Linked DNA regions of Homo sapiens: all the other regions are linked to region 3. The links are contacts of gene promoters, found by promoter capture Hi-C in blood cells and fetal thymus (Javierre and others, 2016). All regions are on one chromosome and are shown on one strand. Each heading gives the region's core, a stretch centred on a gene start or on the middle of the fragment in contact. The rest is flanking DNA. Distances are from core to core; before and after follow the strand shown.

What was found. Contacts are between HindIII fragments. The CHiCAGO score rates a contact against its expected background, and 5 or more counts as called.
Region 1: a fragment that was not itself captured here is called in contact with the fragment with the promoter of CENPE in region 3 in 2 of 17 cell types (non-activated CD4 T cells and naive CD8 T cells); the score reaches 8.0 in non-activated CD4 T cells.
Region 2: a fragment that was not itself captured here is called in contact with the fragment with the promoter of CENPE in region 3 in 2 of 17 cell types (megakaryocytes and erythroblasts); the score reaches 13.2 in megakaryocytes.
Region 4: a contact is called between a fragment that was not itself captured here and the fragment with the promoter of CENPE in region 3, in 2 of 17 cell types (naive CD4 T cells and total B cells). The highest score is 5.3, in naive CD4 T cells.
Region 5: a fragment that was not itself captured here is called in contact with the fragment with the promoter of CENPE in region 3 in 1 of 17 cell types (neutrophils); the score reaches 5.5 in neutrophils.
Region 6: a contact is called between a fragment that was not itself captured here and the fragment with the promoter of CENPE in region 3, in 1 of 17 cell types (endothelial precursors). The highest score is 7.9, in endothelial precursors.
Region 7: a contact is called between a fragment that was not itself captured here and the fragment with the promoter of CENPE in region 3, in 3 of 17 cell types (fetal thymus, total B cells and monocytes). The highest score is 9.1, in fetal thymus.

The regions. Positions count from the first base shown.
Region 1 is chr4:102,336,592-102,340,132 of GRCh38, forward strand. The region is part of intron 2 of SLC39A8 (solute carrier family 39 member 8); the gene reads right to left. Among named protein-coding and RNA genes, the nearest start is that of SLC39A8, 7.1 kb to the right of the region's middle. The HindIII fragment of the contact is 4,591 bases long and covers 1-3,541 here.
Region 2 is chr4:103,928,411-103,931,594 of GRCh38, forward strand. No RefSeq gene overlaps it. Among named protein-coding and RNA genes, the nearest start is that of LINC02503, 32 kb to the right of the region's middle. The HindIII fragment of the contact is 4,781 bases long and covers 1-3,184 here.
Region 3 is chr4:103,196,750-103,200,075 of GRCh38, forward strand. CENPE (centromere protein E) reads right to left here and starts at 1,594. Exons shown (of 49, transcript NM_001813.3): 1 at 1,515-1,594; 2 at 10-101. The coding sequence starts at 1,570. RefSeq lists an enhancer at 1,456-2,010. The HindIII fragment of the contact is 3,749 bases long and covers 640-3,326 here.
Region 4 is chr4:102,426,062-102,429,621 of GRCh38, forward strand. The region is part of intron 2 of NFKB1-AS1 (NFKB1 antisense RNA 1); the gene reads right to left. Among named protein-coding and RNA genes, the nearest start is that of NFKB1, 74 kb to the right of the region's middle. The HindIII fragment of the contact is 984 bases long and covers 1,606-2,589 here.
Region 5 is chr4:102,384,983-102,388,278 of GRCh38, forward strand. No RefSeq gene overlaps it. Among named protein-coding and RNA genes, the nearest start is that of SLC39A8, 41 kb to the left of the region's middle. The HindIII fragment of the contact is 4,429 bases long and covers 1-3,296 here.
Region 6 is chr4:103,908,659-103,912,191 of GRCh38, forward strand. No RefSeq gene overlaps it. Among named protein-coding and RNA genes, the nearest start is that of LINC02503, 51 kb to the right of the region's middle. The HindIII fragment of the contact is 5,904 bases long and covers 1-3,533 here.
Region 7 is chr4:102,497,625-102,501,184 of GRCh38, forward strand. The region is part of intron 1 of NFKB1-AS1 (NFKB1 antisense RNA 1); the gene reads right to left. Among named protein-coding and RNA genes, the nearest start is that of NFKB1, 2.0 kb to the right of the region's middle. RefSeq lists a silencer at 3,415-3,560. The HindIII fragment of the contact is 1,389 bases long and covers 1,341-2,729 here.

The DNA.
Region 1 (3,541 bases), core at 814-3,313, 860 kb before region 3:
GAGGGCATAATGCTACATTTCAGGTTCACCTTTAATCTAGACTCAACAGATTTTTGTTTTTATTCTCCTTAAACTTCAGGCCAGGAAAAACAACAGAGTATCTTTAGAAAGAGACGGAAGCCAAATTAAACAAGGCTCCATTCTGAATGTTTTCTATGCTCCCAAATCCTATCAACACAAAGGTAATTCGATGAAAGGTTCATTTCTTTATAAAATAAATCTCAAGGCTACTGAAACAGACAATTGGGAATAATTTGAGAATAAATTAATTAGTTTTGATTACAAACAGGAATCTACTGTTATATAAAGTTGGAAATGGGAAAATTCTGAAAATTACCTAGTTTTTTAGATAGCCTAGAGTTTAGTAACATTCTTTTTTTAAAATAAATTGCATTGTAAATGACCCTAATACTAGCTGTTTGCACTTAGTAATGTGTACATCCCTTGAGGAAACACCACTTGGAATACAAGTAACTTGCAAACCCATTACCAGCCACATTAAATTGCCTTCATTAGATGTTGCTTTTCTTTTCCTGAGGATCACTGATCCTTCTCAACTTCAGGCCTTATTTTCCATTTCTATTTATATTCCTATTTTTCTCCCCCAATCCCTACTACCACCAAAAGGAATTCACTTTTCTCAAAAAAAAAAAAAAAGAATCAAAAGTATATTAAATTTAAAGAAAACACCTTTAAACAATTATTATGGTTGAAAAGTAATAGGTTTTTATGACTAGAAAGCAGAAAACTAAGTCCCTGCCCCTCAATATATCCCAAGATAAGAATAAATCATGGAAAGCATAACAGCTGCAAATCTCCCACCCAGATGAGAGAACAACCCTAGGGAACATCCCTAGAGAGAAAGATCTATCCCAATTATGGAAAGTTCACCTGATAACTGTGTGAGAAAGCTCAAACTGCCTCCTAGCAGCACTGTCTTACCTATAGTTAAGAGTCAGTGATTCTGTTGAAGTACTTGGCTCGGCTCACCTACTCTTCCCTCCTTGCTTCAACTCATTCCCCAACACCTATGCACAAACCACTTTCTCCAGTGTTGTGCAGTTAAGAATGCAATTGCTTCAGAGGCATCATAAGGGAAGATTTCCATTCTAAACCGCCAGAAGAGACAGTGGATTCATTGGCCGAAAACTTCTAGCATAAAAGTGAGAAATGAACTGAAAGGTTTCATACTAGACATGCCTGAAGTCTATCCATAGAAGAAAGTACTATTGTTGCTCAAAATATAGTCCCTTAAAAAAATTCATTATATATGAAACAATAAAAGAAAATTTCATCCTCTAAAAAAGAATTCATGTAATTCACATGAAAATTCATCACATTTGGTATAAGCAAGAGTTCAATCAATAAATTTTTTAAAAACCAAACCAGATAAGCCAAATTGACTGAGTTATAACTTTTCCATGAGGCATTTCCAACCCCAAAAAATCCCTCACCTTTCTAAACTAGTAGCAGATGTTTTCTAGTATCCATGTGACAATCATATATGGCCTTGTGATATGTTTTACAATGTCTGCTTTCGTGATTACTGCAGCTTTGCCTTCCATAGTCACTTTTCACAGTTTCCATCTTATTTCTTTTTTTTTTTTTTTTTCGAGACGGAGTCTTACTTTGTCACCCAGGCTGGAGTGCAGTGGCGCCATCTCGGCTCACTGCAAGCTCTGCCTCCCGGGTTCACGCCATTCTCCTGCCTCAGCCTCCTGAGTAGCTGGGACTACAGGCACCCACCACTACTCCCGGCTAATTTTTTGTATTTTTAGTAGAGATGGGGTTTCACCATGTTAACCAGGATGGTCTCGATCTCCTGACCTTGTGATCTGCCCCCCTCAGCCTCCCAAAGTGCTGGGATTACAGGCGTTAGCCACCGCGCCCAGCCTCCATCTTATTTCTTAATTATAAGGTCTCTGAGGACAAAGACAAGTCATCATCATCGTAGCCTCCACAGCTCTAGTACCATTTCCTTAATGTGACTAAGCAATGTAACCAGATAGGCAGTCGATGACTAGTAACTTCTCCCTGTAGTTCAAAATCTAAGGTCATGGTTGCTCTAGCTAGAGAAAGTATGGTTTTCTAGATTGTAATTCAAAAAATGCACTATAGCATAGTGTGTAAGACTGCCTGAGGTTCTACCACTTACTTCGTGACGTTGGTCCAGTTACTTAACCTCTCTGTGCCACATTTTTCTTACACATAAAATGAAGATAATAATGGGACCTTTATCATAGAGTTGGTATGAGTATGAAACATGATAATACAAATAAATTGGTTAAGGGAGTAATGCCACACAGTAAAAGATTAATAAATCCTAGCTATAATTATTACATTACATATAAAAGGGTTCATATGACTCCTAGAATAGTGGGTAAAGATGTGATTTTGGGAGTTAGATATGAAAGGAATGAAAAGCATTTTCCTAATGGATCCCAATCACACCTGGCATCAAGGCAAACTAAGCTCTTGACATCACAGTCAAATGAATTACGAATGTCCCTCATTTTCCCAAAGCCTTGAAATACAATCAACACACTGTACACAATCAACTTATGTGAGAGTGATCTAATAGATCAGAATGGGGCCATTGTCTTGGAGGATTCTTAACAAGAGACCTAGGTAACCTCACCCTCTGTCCTGCCCTTCCAGTTTCTCACCTGAACAAGCAGGTTAGAAGGCATTCCTAGAAGGTTTACCCCCACCATTTCTCAGCACATAAAGGGGAAAAAAAAAAAAGAACAAATGTTCTTTATCTCTTCTGTCCATAGTCAGTGCTTCCCAGAAACACCCTCATCTAACCCATCATTACCCCCACCCCAGGAAAAAGTGCAGTAGATGACAACAGGCAATGCAAAAAACATGTTTGCAGTATCCACACACATACATACACTCCTTTTTGCTACATACCACTAGCCTGGCCATCCATTAATATGAGCCCGGAGTTATTCTTTCTCCTTCTGGCATCACAGGGTCAGAAGATAATGAAGGAAGAGATCTAGCAATACTTAAATAAATAATGATTACAGGCAAAATATTGAAATAGAAAAGGCTTATCTTTGGGGCCTTTTGCATACTCTTCAGCCATGCCTGCTCTTCTTGAAGTCTCTGAAGGCAGAGCCTTTATATTACCTTCTGAGTTTCTCCAAATTCAAGTGGTCCTTACATCTCATGAAATCCACTGCAGATGGCTCCTTAGCTCCCACCTTGACCCACTCCAATACATTCCACACTCTCATGTCAGATTAATGTTCTGAAAACACAGGTCTTATCTCACATTGGTTTTTAAACACATTTATTCCTAGTGTTCCATTATTGAAACACTAAGCATGTGGGAGTTATTTATATCCCACTGCTCAAGGTCATTGCCAAGGTCTGATTGCAAAAATTCAAAAAATTGCAACCTCAGGCATAAATGGGTTAGTTCCTTAATCAGGCATATCACTGTTTCGTGCATTATAATTATATGTGCATATGTCATGTCTCCTCCAATAGACTGTAAAGTCATGTGAGGACTCAAATTATCAAACTCATC
Region 2 (3,184 bases), core at 10-2,509, 730 kb after region 3:
TAGAAATTATAGAAAGAAACCTAATAAATGTAGAACCAAATGGAAATTGTAATTAAACGTAAAATAACTAAAATGAAGAATTTAATCAAGGGATTCAACAACATATTTGAGGAAGTGAAAGTATGAATCAGTGAGTGTGGAATAAGTTAATTGTGACTATCTGACTGTGGAACAGAAACAAACAAAAATAGAAAAATAAACAGAAACTAAGAGATCCGTGGGACATCCCATCATGTGTACCAACATGCACATAATTGAAGTAGCACAGGAGGAGAGACAGAGAAAAAATAAAGCAGAAAGAATATTTGAAGAAATAATGCCTGAAAACTTTCCTTGTGAAGACATGAATCTGAGAAGCTAAATACATCTTTAGTAGAATAAACACAAAATGATCTACACCAAGACATATTATAGTCAAACTGTTGAAAGTCAAAAACAAAGAGGAAATCCAGGAAGAATAAAGAGAAGCAACTCCCCAAGTATAAGTAATCTGGGATAAAATTCACAGCTCGTATCTCATCAAAAGCAATGAACACCAGAAGGCTGTGGGATGATATACCTATGAGGTTGACTCTCAGAACAGACCAATAAGGAGTTGCAACATTGAATCAATAATAAAAAGCCTACCAACCAGAAATAGCCCAGGACCAGATGGATTCACAAATTCTACCAGATGTATAAGGAAGAGCTGATATCATTCCTACTGAAACTATTACAAAAAAATTGAGGAGGAGGGATTCATTCCTAATTCATTTTATGAGTCCAGGATCATCCAGAATCAAAAACCTGGCAGAGACACAACAAAATACAAAAACTTTAGGACAATATCCTTGATTAACATGCAAAAATTCTCAACAAAATACCAGCAAATTAAATCCAATAGCACATCAAAAAGCTAATCCACTACAACCAAGTATGTTGTATCCCTCGGATGCAAGGTTGGTTCAGCACACATGCAAATCAGTAAATGTTATTTACCACATAAACAGAACTAAAAACAAAAGCCACAAGATCATTTCAATAGATTCAGAAAAGGCTTTCAACAAAACTAAACATCGCTTCATATTAAAAACCCTCAACAATCTAGGTATTAAAGAAATATATCTCAAAATAGTAAGAGCCATCTATGAAAAACTCACACCCAACATCATACTGAATGGACAATAGAATAAATTTGGAAGGGCTCTCTCCTTCAACTTTTTGTTAAGAGTTTGAGAAGAATTGGTATTAATACTTTTATAAAAAAAAGTTTGCTAGAATATACCTATGAAGTCATCTGGATCTGAGCTTTTCATTGTTAGAATTGTTTTAACTGACGTAATCTTCGTACTAGTTATTAGTTGGTCTATCTAGATTTTCTATTTCTTTCTTTTTTTTTTTTGTTTGAGTTGGAGTCTTGCTCTGTCACCCAGTCTGGAGTGCAGTGGCGTGACTCGGCTCACCGCAACCTTCCCCTCCCTGCCTCAGCCTCCCAAGTAGCTGGGATTACAAGCACGCCACCACACCCGGCTAATTATTTAGGTATTTTTAGTAGAGATGGGGTTTCATTAGGTTGGCCATACTGGTCTCGAACTCCTGACCTCAGGTGATCCGCCCGCCTCAGCCTCCCAAAATGCTGGGATTACAGGCGTGAGCCACCGCACCCAGACATTGGGTTTTCTATTTCACCATGATTCAGTCTTTTCAGTTTTATATGTTTCTAGGAATTTATCCATTTTTTCTAGGTTATCCAATTTCTTAGTGTATAATTGCTCATAGTAGTCTCTTGTAATGCTTTGTATTTTGAAATATCATAATGTCACTTTTATCACTTCTTATTTGAGTCTTCTTACCTTTTCATTAGTTTAGCTAAAGATTCTTTATTTTTGTTTATCTTTTTAAGAAACCACTTTTAGTTTGGTTGATCTTTTCCATCATTATTCTGTCTTTATTTAATTTATTTCTACTCTTATCTCTGTTATTTTTCTCCTTCTGCTAACCTTGGACTTACTTTATTCTTCTTTAACTAGTCCCTTGAGGTATAAAGTTAGAATGTTTATTTGAGATTTGCCTTTTTTTCTTCTTGTAGGCATTTATACCATAAACTTCCCTCTTAGAAATGCTTCCCATAAGCAGTATCCCGTAAGTTTTGGTATGATGTTTTCATTTTCATTTATCTCAAGATACATTTCAATTGCTCCTTTGATATCTACTCGAGACCTATTGATCACTCTCCAGTATTGGGTGGGATGTGGTGGCTCTTATTCTGGGGGAGGCCTCAGCAGTGTAGTGTCCATGCAGCTCTATTAACTGAGGTCAGCATCAATAAAGATTCCACGGGTCCTCAAGAGCCACGGCCATGATTGTCCATAGCAGTGATGAAGGTTTTTGAGCTTTTTAGTGGTCAAGGCTGCTCTGGACATCCTGATACCTTTTTTTTTTTTTCCTCACAGAAGACAATGCGGCACCTGTTCTGGCTCATGGGCGTCCTCATTGTGGTGGTGGCACTGTTGTCTAATATACAAAATGCTACTGGAGTTCTTTACATAGCAGGTCTCTGGGGCCTGCGATGGCACTCACCACATGACTAATACAGATAGGATCTTCCCTTCTTTGCTCCCAGCCATCTCCAGACTTCCCTGCTAAGCCAGTCTCCCTAGTGATCCCTTCTATGCAGCTATTCTGTCTCTCATTTTCTTCCCCACTATGTTGTTGTAGGTCCTGATTGAACTTTGAGCTTAGTTAATAGTTTTCTTCCAGTATTTTTATATTTTACTAATTTTTATCTAATTATTATATCAATTATTGAGAAAGAGATGTTGAAAACTCTGAATATTATTTTTGCATTAATTGATTTCTCCTGTCATTGCTTCATATCAGTCTTTGCTTCATGCACTTTGAAACTCTGTTACTAGTACATCAAAGTATAATATTGTTATGCTTTCTTGATGGATTGATGCCTTTATCCTTGTAAAATGATCCACTGTCTCTCAGATAATATTTTTTTTCCTAAAATTTACTTTGCCTGATGTCTGTATAGCCACTGAAGACTTCTTTTGATTAGTCTTAGCATGCTGCTTCCCTGCTGAATGAATTCTAGCTAGTGTGGGATCCAGGTTCTCACCTGTGGTCTTTTGACAGTGCTTTACTACAAAGGAAACCGTTGAGATACCAAGTAGAGATCCTTTCTATTTCTGTTCTGTGA
Region 3 (3,326 bases), core at 344-2,843:
TAAGCTTACCAAAATTGAAGGATTTACTTCCATCAACTTGATAAATGACATTATTGTCAGTTTTCCAGTAAACTTGGGCAGTTTCTCCAAGTGATTCTTCTCTAAAAGAATAAAAACACCGCATTTTAACCAGTCATAAAAGTCATGTCATAGGAGGAATAATTGAAAAGATTTCACCTGCTAAAGAATATTTTGAAAGATAGTAACATAAGAGAATGACAGAAAGTCCATCTTTGAGGATTCAACTCTTAAATGGAGCTTCAGTGACCTTCTGCCGCCTCAAAAGTGTTTTCTTGTGAAGGCTTTCATTCTCACCCTCTCCCCCAGTACTGGTAAACAAAGGGATGGATTCAAAATGCAACTCTGATTATGTCTGTCTTGCTTAAAATTCTTAAAACCTTTTGGAAACTTATGAAATCCTCAGCAGGGCACGAGTCCTAGATCATGTCATTTCTCTCTTCCATTTTCCTCTGAATTCCTAGATACATCCTAAGCTCTACCTGAAGGTCTTCCCCAAATGACAGATGTAACCTCTCTGTGCCTGGAATACTCTGACTTCCCTTTCCATTAAGTAACATAGGGATTATTTCACTCATGAAAAGCGTCAAGACTTTTCTGACACCAGTTCACCCCACGGGAAGCTTTCGTCTCTGATGGGCTAATAACTCCTCTAGCAAACATTCTCTACCTGCCCATCATAACACTTGTCAAAAGGTATCCTAATGGTTTCTTTATGTAGCCGTTTAAGGCATTAGATAATGAGCTCCTCAAAAATAGGAAATTCCTGATCTTGGTATTTGCATTTATTAAACCCCGTGTTCAATAAAAATTTCTCACACACACAAAGTGTTAGCATTTCGGGTCGAGGGCCAGAAGCTAGTGAAGCAAACCGATTTCATTTATTCCTCTTCCTGCTTTTTCTCCCTAGCACTTATTACCTACATATCACCACTTAACATCCTACATTTTCAACTTTACTTTCTGTCTCGTCCCATTAGAATGGAAGAGCCACTGGGCAATGACGGGAGTGTCTGTGTTGTACAAAGTCACTAAAAAAAAATTGATAAATATTTGTAGAATGATCTTGAGTGACGATTGAATGTAATGTGACAAGACAGACTAGCCCTTGTCTTCAGAGGGTCTGGAGACAGCAGTTAGGTGTAAAATGACTAACTGTGATGAGGGCCAGGAAGGCACGGTCCCATACGACTTCTCTAGGCGGGGAATGGGGCAGGGAGGAGCAGATGCCGCAAGGCAGAGCAGCACAGAAGGGAAGGTCTGTATGTCAGCGAGACTGAGTTAAATTTAAGTGAATCTCGCAGCTGGAAAGTATCTTCTAGATCTCCGATCCTCCCCTGTCACTTTACAGACCCTGAAACGATGGCCAGCAGCCGAGTCACTAGACAGCAGAGCCGGGAAGCAGCGGCTCCTGGAAACATCGTAGGCCTCGCCCCTCCGGCTCAGGGCGGCGCCGCAGGCCCAGCGGGCACCGGGCCGTGGTGTGGCCCCCCTACCTGCTGTTCAGCGGCCGCACTCGCACGCAGACGGCCACGGCTCCTTCCTCCGCCATCCTATCAGGCTGAACTGGTCCCAGGAAAATGGCCAGGACCCTCCGCGGCCGGCACTTCAGGGCTCACAGGCCGCCCCGCCTTTAAATTTAAAATTTCCCAAACGCCGCATCTGATTGAGCCGTGGCCTCGTGACGTCATGGGCCATTCCACGTGCGGAGCAGCGCGGGGGACGCAAGGCGGGCGGCGTGACCACTGCTAAACAGGAGAGGGGATTTAAAGGGCCCAGCAGAGAGTCGGAGGAGAGGGCCGAAGGGAGGGGCTCCCAGGAGTGGGCAGAGAGTGGTGGTCCTGGAATACCAGAATACTATTATCTGCCAAAAGCTAGCGAACGTCATCCTCCACCCCATCCTTAAAAAGTTTGGAACCTGTAGACGAAACTAGGTAGAGATACATGTATTTTTCACTACCCAAACAGAATTGCCGTCTTTTAAAGAAACTGCACCAACAGTTTAAAATAAACTTTCAACAGCAAGAGTTGAAATTCGCTGTCCAGTCCAGAAACGTGACAAGCCTGTTGTGCGCCTTAGAAAATCTGAGTTTAGGCTTTTCTCCTGTTTCTCTCTCTCTGTAACTCGTTTCCATTAGCTGTGGCTTCCTCAGAGGTTGAATTAGGGAAAATAAATACCGAGGACTGAAAAACTCATTGAGTAATGGGTTGATACTTTTTTTTTCTTCTTTTTTTTGGAAACGGAGTCTCGCTCTGTCACCCCAGGCTGGAGTGCAGTGGTGCTTATCTCTGCTCATTGCAGCCTCCACCTCCTGCATTCAAGTGATTCTCCTGCCTCAGCCTCCCCAGTAGCTGGGATTACAAGGTGCCCGCCACCACGCCCAGGTAATTTTTGTATTTTTAGTAGAGACGGGGCTTCGCCATGTTGGCAAGGCTGGTCTCAAAGTCCTGACCTCAGGTGATCCACTTGCCTCGGTCTCCAAAAGTGCTGGGATTAAAGGCGTGAGCCACCGCTCCTGGCCTGGTTTGTTACTTTTATTAACTAAGAGGGAAAGCTATTCTAAATACAGTGATTTTTTCCCAAAAATAATGCTTATTTTCCCTTTCTTCTCTCTCTCTCTTTTTTTTTTTTTTTTTTTTTTAAATAAACATGAGTTCTTGCTTTGTCACCTAGGCTAGAGTGCAGTAGGCTGAACACAGCTCACTGCAGGCTCAACTCCTGGCCTCAGCCCAAGTGGGGTTCCCACCTTAACCTCCTGAGTAGCTTGGATTACAGGCACATCACAAGCCCAGATAATTTTTAAATTTTTTTGTAGAGACGGGGTGGTGGGGGGATTAGGGTAGGGAGTGGGGTCTCACAGTGTTGCCTAGGCAGGTCTTGAACTCCTAGGCTCAAGCAATCCTCCTTGCCTTGGCCTCCCAAAGTGCTGGGATTACAAGCATGAGCCATCGTGCCTGGCCTAGCTTTTTATGTGTACTTTAGAAAGCTATCCAAGATGTTTCATTTATTAAGAGAAATTCAAGGTGCACGGTTATGTACACAGAATATGTCTGGATATACATACATAATTTTTGGAAAGATACACAGAATATGCCTAATTTCCTTGCAGAGTGAGGACTGAGTTAGATGGTAGACTGAGTTAGATGAAAGTAGTTTCTTTCAATTTAAAGAAACTAGTTTATAGATAAGAACAGTAAAGAAAAATGAGTCTATTCATTCAAGATTTGTTTTGGTTAACTAGCTGTGAGGTAGTATAAACAACTCTTTTTTATTGCTAGACTGTAAAGATACTTGGTTGTATCTAGTA
Region 4 (3,560 bases), core at 848-3,347, 770 kb before region 3:
TTTATACTGTTTCACTTATTGCACTAAGTTCACATTACTCTTGCAATTTTTGAAGAGAAATTAAAGGGGGAAGGTTGTTATTTTTTTTAACGCCTTAGAACATGCATTTTTTCCCCTCTTTCCCTTATCCTCCCATGGTAATGTCTATTGATCTACTCTTAGCATCCTACGTGCTACAGCACATGATTTAGAATTTGAAATTCTTTTCACTTTTAAATAACTTTATTGAGATATATAATTTACATATAATAAAATCTGCCTATTGTAAGTGATTTTTAGTAAATTTATAGAACTGTGCAGTCAAACCCACAATACAATTTTAGGATATTTCCATCACCTGGCAAAATTCCCTTGTGGCTATTTGCAGTAAATTACTCCCACATATGCCCAGAGCTTCTGTCTCTATAAATTTGTCTTTTCTAGGTATTTCATTACAATGGAATTTTACAATATGTAGTCTTTTAATTCTGGCTTCTTTCAGGAATCATAATGTTTTTGAGGTCCTCCATGTTGCAGCATGTATCAGTAATCTGTTCTTTCTTTTCTTTTCTTTTCTTTTTTTTTTTTTCTTGAGACAGAGTCTCGCTCTGCTGCTCTGTCACCCAGGCTGGAGTGCAGTGGCGCGATCTTGGCTCAAGCAACTTCTGCCTCTCGGGTTCAAGCAATTCTCCTGCCTCAGCCTCCCAAGTAGCTGGGATTCAGGCGCCCACCACCACACCTGGCTAATTTTTTTTATTTTTCATAGAGATGGGGTTTCGCCATGTTGGCCTGCCTGGTCTCAAATTTCTGACCCCAGGTGATCTGCCCGCCTCAGCCTCCCAAAGTGCTGGGGTTACAGGCATGAGCTACCGTGCCCAGCAATCTGTTCCTTTTTATTGCTAGTTTTTAATTTTATAGATATATCACCTTGTTTAATCTTTTCACCGCTTGATGACATTTGGGTTGTTTCCACTTTTTTGGCTATTATTAATACTGCTGCTGTGAACATTTGTGTACATACACCTACTATGTACCCACAAAACTGGAATTTGAAATTTCAACAAAGAAGGTGTGAGGTTATTGATAGACAAGAGGGGCCATTTTATAAGTGATCGAGGCACAATTCATTATATACATGTTGAGCCACTGAGAGCTCCTCTAACACACCATGTTTTGGTACATAGCTAGTAAGTGAAAAATTAGGTAGCCCCTGAGTACTTATTTAAATTATCTGCCTCTTTTGGATAAATGCATGGAAAAATTCTAACAGTTACAGTTTGTTAAAACCTGTAAACAAATACCCAATTAGCAGCAATCTCATTGAGACTATCAGAAGCTGAAAGAAACCACACTCAACTTCATAACTCAAGTAGAATTCCCCTTGCGAAAAAAAAAAAAAATCCATGGTAGTACTGGACTCAATACACAATTTTGCTACCAGGTAACCAACAACAAAAAAAACAGTTTGCATAAGGTCAACTATCTCTAAACACAAATTCACAGTTTTGGCAAATATTCTCCAAGGTTTAATTGGTTTATATCAAACAACTCCAAACAGCATGTCAGTCATTTTTATTAGTAAGGGGCACATTTCACAAGTAATTTTCTCTAGAGGGTTCACTGAGAAGCTTTCAAACTCAGACATTTCTCAGATGGATTTCTGAGATTTTTCTCGGGGTAATTCTGCTTTGAAAATCTTCCAGGCTAAAATTGCCAAAGCCACGGTCTACAGTGTAGACCTTTGGAACTTTGTTGATTGATCTGCCCCTATCCTGGAGCAGACCCAGAATTGTATTCTGAGAAAAATCTATTAACTGTCTATAGTGCTCCTAGGCCTTCTCCATGCAGAGGTAGGCCAATGTCTATTCAAGACAAAGTCTAGCTTAGGCACCTTAATTTTCATAAGGGGACATTAACCTTTTTCTCTTTGCTCAATTGATCTCTAAAATACATACTTTTTGAAGTATATTAGCTTTATAATACATGTGCTTCAATCATAACACCAAATAATTGCTCTAAGGCATTTTTCAGATAATAAAATACCTGACAGTCACTACCCAGCTTTTATCAAAAGACGTAAGAAATAATATTCATAGAGAATCCATAATTAATTCATAATTCAAGGAGATAAAGTCTACCCAGCCCAACAAATAGTTTAGATTTTTATCCCTGGATCAATCCAGGCATGCGATGTGGCTGAAGTATAAGTTACGGGAAGGGAGAGGCTGGAGAAGGTTGTAAAGAGACAGCCAGGCTTGGGATTATATTTCAAAGGCCTTATAGCCCATTTATTCAGTCACCATGAAATGCTGTGTCATCAAAGGATTTCAGATAGGTAGGACGCTGTTACATAAGACCAGGTAAAAGGTGATTAGTATCTTAGCAGAAACAGTTATAATTTGAATTTAAATTCAATAGGACTGAAAATTGGTTGAATGTAGGAGACAAAGGAAAACAGTCAAGATGACTCCCGTAGCATGGGCCCTGAATGGAGAATACAGAAGAAACAGGTTGGGGCAAGAAGTTAATAAGCTCAGTGTTAAAAATGCTGAGTTTGATACCCCATAGAGTATCCCCAGAAATGACTTACTGAGTTATTCATGAATCTGAAGCTTGGAGGATATGGGCTGGTGATACAGGTTTGAGAATCATCAGCAAATAAAAGACAATTAAAACTATAACAGCTACCTACCTGCTATGTCTCCTAGGCCAAGTCACCTCTCTATGCCTCCATTTTCTGATTTGTAAAGTGAAGATTATCATACCTAATTGAGGGTTACTTAAGAAAATTACTATACTTTTGCTTAGTATGCTCTTGATATATGTCAGTTGTTTAAAAAACTAAATTAATTGCCAAGATTGCCTTGCAAGACCACATAGAACAATGGTTATTACACTTTTGGAGAGAAATTAATGCTTTTGAGAATAGCTGTAAACTATGGACTTTCTTATTAGAAAATTACACATAATCAAAGACCCAAATTTTTGCACAGAATTTCAGGAGGCCTGTGGATCACTAAAGAACCTGGGTTTAAAATTTTTTGATGTACAAGGGGAAGAGGGAAAATCTGAGAATCAAACAGGAAAAAAAAAATTATGAAATGAGCAGATTAGGAGAAGACCAAGAAGAGATTATCAGAAAGCGGCAAACATCAAACAGTTTCAAGAAGAGGCTGTGACCAATTTTCCCAAATTTGGCAAGTAGGGCCAATAAGATGAGTTAAAATGATCATTGGCAACATTCACGAATTGTATTAGTCTAGTGATGGGAGAGAAAATTAGAGATCAGTCAGTTAAGGAGTGAAAAGGGAGTGGAAAAGCAGTGGCAACTCATGGACAAAAAGGAAGAAAAAAGATGGAATGAAAGACAAAAGAGAATTTGTGGTCAAGAAAGGGCTGACTTTCTGTTTGCTGTGTTTGTTTTGTTTTGTGGTCATGAGAATTTATTTTTTGTTGTTTTGGGGTATTTCGTTTGTTCATTTTTTAAGGATGAGAAAGATTTGGGGTGTATGGACTCAGGATTGGAGCCAACAGAAGGGCTAAGGTGGAAGATAAGAACAGAGTGGGAATGACTGATGAAG
Region 5 (3,296 bases), core at 487-2,986, 810 kb before region 3:
GTCAGGACCCTTCAGCCTTGTTTTCCAAAGGATGGAGAGTCAGTTTCCCAAAGTCAGCCCTTCTGGGCCCTCAGAGCAGTTGGCTGGTTGCATGCTTCCTATTGTTGTTCTTCATCATTTATCATGGGTGTGGAGTCATGTGAAATGTGCAAATGCTAACTCAATGTAGACAGCGAATTAGTCTTCCACAGTGACCATTTGATATGCTTATTTCCTTGAAATTCTTATACCTGTTCCTATGACACAGAACTATGAGCATATGTTCACAGACCAGATTCTCCTAGTAATACCTTTAGAGTATGGTTCACTGAGAAATCAATGACATGATAATGGAGTTCTGTCAGAGGAGGCAGGTGATGTTACTCACCAGAAATCCCAAATAGGTACTCACTGCTCCTCAACAAGTAAAGGCTCAGAACTTCCAGATCCAGTACTGTGGTCCACTGCCTCTTCTACAGATGCTCTTCTCTGCCCCAGGCCCACAGTATCTCAAGGTTACTGTGGCTTAGATAGCATTTACCTTTATATCTGAAAGAGAGTAGAGAATGAGGGGACATTTGTGTTGAGGTCCAGGAATCAGACCCATCTGGGTGTTATGGGTTATTTTATGATTACTGGAAACAAAAAAGATTTCCTTGGCACACAATATTCAGGGGGAATTCCTGATTCCTCCATCCAGCTAAATTCTCTTTCCATCGAACTAAAGCAAGTGGGGACTCCTGGAATAATGCAAGGCTTTGATGGCAAAGTCCCTGAACACGGGGAGGGGAGTCACACACATCCCTCTCTTCCTCTCAATTTCAGGACAAGGAAGGATAAGTCCACATTCTTCCTATCAAACTCTCACTAGAGATTAGAAATAGAGACTTTGAACTGTGCCTTGGGCATCTCCTCAGGCACTGGAGCAGATGTAGCTCTGAGAAGAAAACAGCATGGCCGCATCCTTTTATCCAGCTCCTGCTCTATAAATTGGCAAAGGGAACTCATCTTTTATTCTAGTTCTATATAATTTACTCCAAATTAAGGAGGAATTCTTAATTATAAATGTTAAGCAGAAGTTGCAAATATGTAAGTTTAATGCCTCTGTTTAAGAGAGGCATTAATAAGAGAAGATTGATCTTTCTTCTAAGGGTACTGGTCTTTCAAGAGAAAAGTAATCTTACACAATTGATAGAAGAGGTTAGTGCTATGATAAAATTTAATACATCCATTGTGCACCATTGAAATTATTTGACTTCACTCACTGACTGCTGTTTCTGCTAAATTGATATCTTAGATCTAAGAGTGATTTGCCATATTCTAGATAGGACTAAGCGGCCTGGTGCAAAATAACCCTGAAGTGTTCACGACTGACCCCTCAGCCCAGACAAAATCATGGAGATGCAGACCACACACCAAATTGAAGCTGAAAACGTGAGATACCTGGGATTATCACAGCCATCCAGAGAGCATCCTTCTCCATACACATAAATTAAGGCATGTGCCCTATGCCCTTTCTCCAATATGATTTTCCTCTAATCCTTGGAACCACTAGAAGAACACTAACTGCCTGACTCTCCTATTCTCCTGACAATACCACAGATGAATTAGGAACCCATTTTCCTAATTCTCTGTGTGTTGGTTTGTTTGGACAGTTACTCTAGTGAAATCGAGTCTTCACAACAAAAGATAGAGGACCCAGACTAAGCAACTTGCCTAAACCTGAGGACTAGAGTCACTTTTATCATGGCTCATTGACATGATACATTGACATATAACGCTCTCCTGAGACAGTTACACTCCCACCTTCTCCCTCTATTCCTATTCCTGGTTATTCCAAACCTCTCCTTCTCCTGTTCTTCACCTTCCAGATGTACTGGTTAGCATCTTCTCCTCATGGCTGAGAAACAATGGCTTACTATCCTGTTTGCCAATCCTTGTTCCACCTTCCTTCAAGTCTTTCTTCCTCATTCAGAGAATGAATATTATTGCTTCTCAGTTTTTTGGCTAAGATTAAGTGAGAATGAATGAGTGAATATTAATTTTATCTTGTGATTAAGTGAGAATGAATGAGTGAATATTAATTTTGTCTTGTACTTATTGTAGTAACTTCTATATAAAATTTTAAAGAGGACAACATTTCTGTCTCAACACCGTCTTGCCTTTCGCAACCTTTCAGACAAACATCTCAGGCTTCCATATTTTCCCTATTGTCTGCTCTAACGTAACATGATTTCCAGGAAAGATAATAAATTGCTCACTGTAAGGTAAAAGGTTGCAAAGTTTATGCCTTTCCAAAGAGATTTGCTTTAACACAGGACCAAAATTTCAATTTCCAATTCTGGAAATGCAAAATCAGTAAGAAATCTTGGAGAAGGACAATTTTCTGGTATCCTTTAAATTATACCCCTACAAACATTGTGTTCAAATAACAACTCACTCATGGTTCATAAAATCATTTTCATGGATTAATATCAGTTTATTTTTTAATAGAATGGAAGGAAACAAATATCAATGTACATCAATTAGAGTAAGCGTAAACTTTTTTTTAGAATTTTCATTTCCGTTTTTTATAAATGTACAACATATATATGTATATGTAATTATAAGCAAAATATATAAATGCATTTCTTGTTATGATCATCATCAAAAAGTTTGAAAGTTACCTGCCCCTCACCCCTAGATCATGTTACCAAATGCTTTTGATTCCTCTTGTGCAACTTCACTAACATGCATCCCTGCTTTTCCATCCCCATCACTGTCCACATAGGTCAGATTATTCATTTCCGTTCTGAAGTTCTACAATAATCACAAAGCCTACATAACTGCTGTCTCTTACATTTTTCTGGGTGTTTACAGTCTCTAAGTCAAATTATTTCCTAATTCAAACTCTGAAATCTGTGCAAGACAAAAATCTGAATTCCTGTGCCTAGCCCTCAACCATCTGGCCCATTTTTACCTTGCCAAACCTTATCTCCTGCAGTTACCCAACTTGCCTCCAGGCATTCTTCTCTTTTCTGCACCAGATCTCTGCTCAAACCATCCTCCTCCCACTCTTTAGCTTGAAATGGCTCCCTTGCCTCATCTTCACGGCATCTTATCAGTCCCTGAATCCTTCAAGTCTCAGCCCCCTTCCCATGTCCTTCATCCCCCAGTGAATGCATTCACTGACCACCCCATACTTCTGAGAAAGCCTTAAATCTTATTATTTTTAACCTTTTCACTGGTGCACATTATTGGTGTACTCATATTTTCTGTTACTTTCTACATTCTTATCTTACCTTTCCAAGGAGATTTTAAGTTCCTTAAAAGAAAAT
Region 6 (3,533 bases), core at 880-3,379, 710 kb after region 3:
CATAAGAAGCCTATGTAGCTTTAAAGTTAGATTTTTAACCTTTCTGGGATTTATTCTATTTTATGAAGTCTGTTTTTGACATTTTTTTCTAAAATGAATAGCCAATTATCTCAATATTAATCTGTCTTTTGTTTTTCCATTATATTACTTTTTTTTACACAACATATACCTATGTATACAAAAGTCTTTTTCTGAACTTCTACTCTCTTAAATTTCTATATTTTAGATTTCTATATCAGTACTATTCTCTTTAAATTACTACCACTTTATAGTATTTTAATATGTATTTAGTCAAGATCCTCTCCTAATTTTTATCTGTTAAATTTTACTTGGCTTTAATTCTTCTTCATAAATTTTAGAAGTTTTAGAGTTTCCTAAATATAGAGTTAAATTTAAAGTAGGACTTTTAGATTTAGAGAGACTTACTATCTTTGCAATATCGAGTGTTCCATATATAAATATATCAGCATTATCTAGCTTTATTTTAGTTTTTACATGGTTGTTGTTCCATCACTTTGAGTAATAAGTAATAAATGCTATCAGCAATTTTGTTCATGTCTTTGGGGAAATGTATTTATGAATATGAATTTTTCATGTGTATAAGTAGACATGGACTTGTGAATTCCTTGTTACATACAAAACTTTAGCAGATACTACCAAACTGTTTTCCAAGGAGGTTAAATAAATGTACACCACATCAGTATATTTTAAGTTTCAACTGTGTCACATTTCACTGAAACTTGTATTGTCTGCCTTTTTCACTGTAGCTGTTCTGGTGGGTGTGTAGTTGCTTGTATTTTCATTTGTATTTCTATGTTGATTTATAATGTTGAGCAACTTTTCACATGCCTACTTACCATTTGAATATCATTTTGTGTGAAATGTCTGGTAAAGATTTTTATCAATTGAGGGTAAGGAGGTTACATCTTTTCTTTACCAACTTTTATGCATTTGGGGAAAAAATGTCAGATGTATATATCCTATTCTTTGGAAATTTTTCACCCCATTTTTACTGTCACTTCTATAAATAAAATTTATTACTATATCTAGTTTTCATTTTACTTTTACTAAAAGAGATTTTGGTGTAATGTTTAAGAATGTTTTACCTACCTCAAGATAATTATTACCCTCTTGTTTCTTCTAGAAGCATTAATTAATTTACCTGTCACATATGTATAATCCATTAGAAGTTTATTATTTTCCATATAAATAACCAATTTACCTGGCACCATTTATTGAATAGATGCTAGGTTTGTACAGTCCTAAATCAGATGCAGGTATATGTGAGTGTGTTTCTTTCTTTACTTTCTATTACGTTTCATTGGTATGATTGATAGCCTTGTGCCTTGTTTTCTCTTGATAAGTTATATATTGATAATTTTTACAATCTAAACACTCATGTTCCCTAGAAACTTTAGTGATAGTGTACTGAATTTATCAATGGCTATGGTCTAAGTGTGTCCCCCAAAATTCATGTGATGGAAACTCCATTCCCAATGCAATAGTCTTGGAAGTCAGGGTCTTTGAAAGTTATTTAGATCATAAGGTCCTGGCCCCCATGGGTGGGTTAATGCCATGATAAAAGGGCTTGATTGAGAAAGTTGGCTCCTTTTGAACCCCTTCTGTCTCCTCTGCCATGTGAGGACACAGCATTCTTTCCCTCTAGAGGATGCAGCTATAATAAGGTGTCATCTTGGAAGCAATTAATAGCCCTCTCCAGTCAACCAACCTGCTGGCGCCTTGGTCTTGGACTTTCTACCCTTCAGAACAGTGAGAACATAAATCTCTGTTGTTTATAAATCACCCAGTTTCCAGTATTTTGTTATAGGAGTACAAATGGACTGTGACATCACTCAGTTTGAGAAAATAAACATTTTTATGATATTGAGACTTTCTGTCCACAAAAGGGCATCACTTTAAATTTACTTATCTAATTGTACTAAATATTATTTTATAGATTTTAGTGTAAATGTTTTGAAGATGTCTTGTTAGATTTATAATTTTTTTTTTTTTTTTTTGAGACGGAGTTTCACTCTGTTGCCCAGGCAAGAGTGCAGTGGTTGGGCTGCTATTGCAGCTCACTGCAGCCTCCGCCTCCCGGGCTCAAGTGATTCTCCTGCCCCAGCCTCCCGAGTAGCTGGGATTACAGGTGCCTACCACCACACCTGGCCAGTTTTTGTATTTTTAGTAGAGATGGGGTTTCAGCATGTTGGCCAGGCCACTCTTGAACTCTTGATCTCGGGTGATCCACCCACCTTGGCCTCCCAAAGTGCTGGTATTAGAGGTGTGAGCCACCACCATGCCCGGCCCAATATTTTTTATGTGTGAGATAAATACTACCTTTTTTCTCTGTTTAGAGTTTTTCATTTGTTGCTTCCATATAGAACCATAATTTATTTTTGCATTCAGGTGGATGATTAAATCTGTATCATCTATATCTGTATCATCTATACTTATATCTATACTATTCTCTTTTTCAAATACCATTCTATTCATTATCTGTATCTGTCTCCTCATTCATTCATTCAATTTTTTATTTTGGCTTTTTGCACTAAAACCTCTACTAAAGTGCTGAATAGAAATTATTTCAGGCATCATCTTCCTATTATCTCTGGAGGACACATTTCAATAATTCATCATTAATGATCAATAATGAAAAATAATGATGAATAATTGAACAATCACAGTGTTCAATTACTTCATCATTAATGATGAAGTTCATTAAAGATATGGCAAATGCTTTTTTCACATGAGAAATCATTTATCATTCAGTATGTTATAGTTATTTGAAATGTCTTATCTTGTTAATAGCAGTTAGTGTATTTTCTTATCTTAGACATTGAAGGTTTTGAACATATAGAATACAGTTATTTAATATTGCCTGCTAATTTTGAATCCATGTAAGCCTAGTTAGTTCAAAATAGTTGATTTTTTCAACTCATTTTTGGGTTGTGTCTCTGATTCTTCGTATACCTGGTAACTTTTCTTTCTTTCTTTTTTTTTTTGAGATGGTTTTGCTCTTGCCCAGGCGGGAGTGCAATGGCGCGATCTTGGCTCACCACAACCTCCACCTCCCGGGTTCAAGCGATTCTCCCGCCTCAGCCTTCTGAGTAGCTGGGATTACAGGCATGAGCCACCACGCCCTGCTAATTTTGTATTTTTAGTAGAGACAAGGTTTCACCATGTTGGTCAGGCTGGTCTCGAACTCCAACTTCAGGTGATCCGCCCACCCCAGCCTCCCAAAGTGCTGGGATTACAAGCGTGAGTCACCACGCCTAGCCTACCTTATAATTTTTTACTGGATGTCAGACATTGTTAATTTTACCTTATTTAATGGAAAATATGTGTGTGTGTGTGTGTGTGTGTGTGTGTGTGTGTGTATTTTTCAGCCTTGTTCTGAGATGCAGTTATTTGGAAACACTTTATTCCTTCAAGACTTGCTTTAAAGATTTGTTAGATAAGACAATCACAGTGTTCAATGTGTTTGATCCAGGAATATTTTCATTCTCCACAATTTAGGCAGGATCCTTCTT
Region 7 (3,560 bases), core at 785-3,284, 700 kb before region 3:
AAAATATGTATGTTTACATGTTACATGTATGTTTGGTATGTGGGAATGCATTACATTCCCACAGATTTTTTCCCAGTTACAGTGTTACTATTCTAATCACTCAGACTAGAACACTCAGAGCTATCTATGAGTCTTCCTCTCACTCAAACTGCATATATAATCTATAAACAGGTCCTGTTGACCTCATCTTCTAAAAATCTCTTACATGCTCCTTTTTATATCATTGGATAATAGTTTAGTGTGGTGGTTAATATCATGCACACTGGAGCCAAATCTGTTAGGTTCAAATCCTGACTCTCCTTCTATTTACTAATTATGAAACCTTAGGAAAATTATTCAACTTTTCATCTGTAAATATGGGGATTATAATGGTGATCCACTTTATATGACTGACAACCAAATAAGTGAATACGTGTATAGCAGGTATTAACCATATGCTTAGCCGACCTATTTCAACCTCCTAACCAACCAGAAGAACTGTAGTTCCCTGCTCTCTTGCATCTAAGTGGGGCCATGGAATGTGGGCAGAAGTGTTGTGTCACCTTTACTCAGAGGCAATTAAAAAGAAGACATACTTTTCCTATGTTCTCATTGCCAATGAACACACTACACAGATCTCAACCTCAGAATTCTCTCCACACTGGTATTTCCAAAATAGCTTCATGAGAAGGGAAATTTGTGTAGTTTCAATGATTTAGTGATGCTATGGTTTGGGTATTTGTCTCCTCTAAACCTCATGTTGAAATGTGACCCCAATTTTGGAGGTGGGGCCTAATGGGAGATGTTTCGGTCATGGAGGTGGATCCCTCACAAATAGATTGATGCTATTCCCTGCAAGGAGGAGAGGATGAGTGAGTTCTCACTGCATTAGTTCCTATGAGAGCTGGTTGCTAAAAAGTTTGGCATCTCTCCCCTCTCTCTCGCCATACGATCTCTCTGCACACACCACCCGCCTTTGCCTTCCATTGAGTGGAAGCAGCCTGAGGCCCTCACCAGACGCATATGCTGGTGCCATGCTTCTTGTACAGTCTGAAGACTGTGAGCCTAATAAACCTCTTTTCATTATAAGCTACCTAGTCTTGTGTATTCTGCCATAGCAACACAAATGAACTAAGACAAGTGACAAACACAAAATAACTTGTCTTTTAGACAATATTGATGTCTGAAATTCCACATTGAGGCATTTTTTTCCTCTTCGTAGCCTGATAATGGCAAATACCTTCTGACACCTTAGGATGGATGAATTTGTAAGAGATATTCCTGGAAGCAGGTTTGTACAGTGTAGAGAAAATGTTGGGTAACAAAGCAGGAATGGAGGAGGGTTAATCAGCAAGCCAAAAAGCTTTTATAGTTTTGCCTGCTGTGCTGCATGGAATTACATCCCCCCAAAACATATGTTCAAGTCCTAACCACAGGTACCTGTGAACATGAGTTTATTTGGAACTAGGATCTTTGCAAATGTTATCAAGTTAAGATGAGGTAATACTGGATTGGGGTGGGCTCTAAATCCAATGACTGGTGTCTTCATAAAAGAAAGGTGAGGGAGAGTTGAATATAGCGACACAAAGGAAACACGGGGAAGGAGACCATGTGACAATGTAGGCACAGAATGGAGTGTTGCAGCCAAGCCAAGAATGGCAAGGATTGCTGGAGCTACCAGAAGCTAGGAGGAGGCAAAGGATTCTTCCCTAGAGCCTTCAGAGGGATCATGGCCTTAATGGCACCTTGAGTTCAGAATTTTAGGCTCCAGGACTGTGACAGAATAAATTCCCGTTGTAAGCTGTTCAGTCGGTGGTAAATTTTTACAGCAGCCCCAGGAAAATATGCCTGCTCAACACCCTACCCTGAATTTTAAGTTCATTTTATGGAATCATTTTGAGTTTGGAGTTTGATTTAATCCTTTTCAGTAATTAACGCTCTTCATTTTTTACTCCCAAATATGTCACACTGGCTCTACTCTTATAACAATTGTATTTATCTATCTTTTGGTAATGGGGCTGCCACCCCTTGCAGAATGAAAAGTAGAGTGTGTATGCTCACACCTCCCTCCCTCCCTCCCTCTCTCCCTCCCTCTCTCTTTCTTTCTTTCTCAGAGTATCGCTCTGTCTCGCCCAGGCTGGAGTGCAGTGGCGCAATCTTGGCTCACTGCAACCTCTGCCTCCAGGGTTCAAGCGATTCTCCTGCCTCAGCCTCTGGAGTAGCTGGGATTACAGGCGCCCGCCACCACGCCCGGCTAATTTTTTTGTATTGTTAGTAGAGATGGGGTTTCACCATATTGGTCAGGCTGGTCTCAAACTCCTGACCTCAGGGGATCCACCCGCCTTGGCCTCCCAAAGTGCTGGGATTACAGGTGTGAGCCACCGCACCCGGCTCACAGAATTTCTTAAAAAGTCATTGTGTTCAGTCTTTATGGATCCTCTAAATTCCAGCTGCTCAGCCTCCCGGAGCTAAATGAGATCACTTAAAGGTCGACTGTTGGGGCCTCCAAGGTCGCCTCGGAGACTCACCTCATAGGCAATCAAATGGATCGCTGGGTTTTTGTGTGTGTGGGTTTTTTTTGTTTATTTTTTTTTTCCAGAAAAACACTCCACCAAGAAGGTTTTTATAACCTACTGGAGGAGGAGGATGGAGAGTGGGCACGAAAGGACTAGGATGAACATGCCATAAGCAATCTAAATGCCACTGCAATATTGCCTGGTGAGGACCTGATTACTGATGTTTTAAAGCTAAGCTTTCAGTTGTCACTCCACCCAGTAGTGAAACAATGAGCTCTAAAATATATATTTCGGCTCAAGCTTTCTTATGTGGGGAGGTAATCCACCCGAAGGTATCCCCAGCCTGTACCTAATACAGTGCCCAGCACTAAAGCAGCTCAGATGCCAGTGAATGGTGGCCACTGGGAGGCCTGTCAGTGGGTGCCAGTAGCGGTCTCTTCAGAGAAAAAGAAAACTCCCCTCTGCCAGATCAGTATTTTATGAGCTGTGAACCAAAACCATTGCTACCACCATCACTATAATTCTATCCACAGTAATTATCATAAAGGCCTAACAATGCCTTGTAGATGAACATTCTGAGTAACTGCTCTATAACCAGGAGATTTAAGACCGCACCAAAAACCAGTAGAGGGTTATACTTTACTGGGCACAAGTCGTTTATGATAACGAAATTGTAGTTTAATCTGTGAAGAGATGTGAATGTAACTGAGACACGCTTAAATGGAATATACAGATGAGCTTTATTTTTATATCTGGCATGCTTGGATCCATGCCGACCCTCCAGCTGCTCGGGCCTGCCCTTAGGGGCTATGGACCGCATGACTCTATCAGCGGCACTGCCACCGCCGCCGCCTCCGTGCTGCCTGCGTTCCCCGACCATTGATTGGGCCCGGCAGGCGCTTCCTGGGGGCTTCCCTACCGGCTCCAGCCCTTGGGATTCGGGAGCGCCCTGCTAGGAAGCCAGAGCCCCGCAGGGGCCGCGGCGTCCAGGCCGCCTAACGCGCGCCCCTCGCCCGGCGCCCCGAAGCGGCCCCGAGGGGCGGGAGCCGAGGCGAGCGGCAAGGC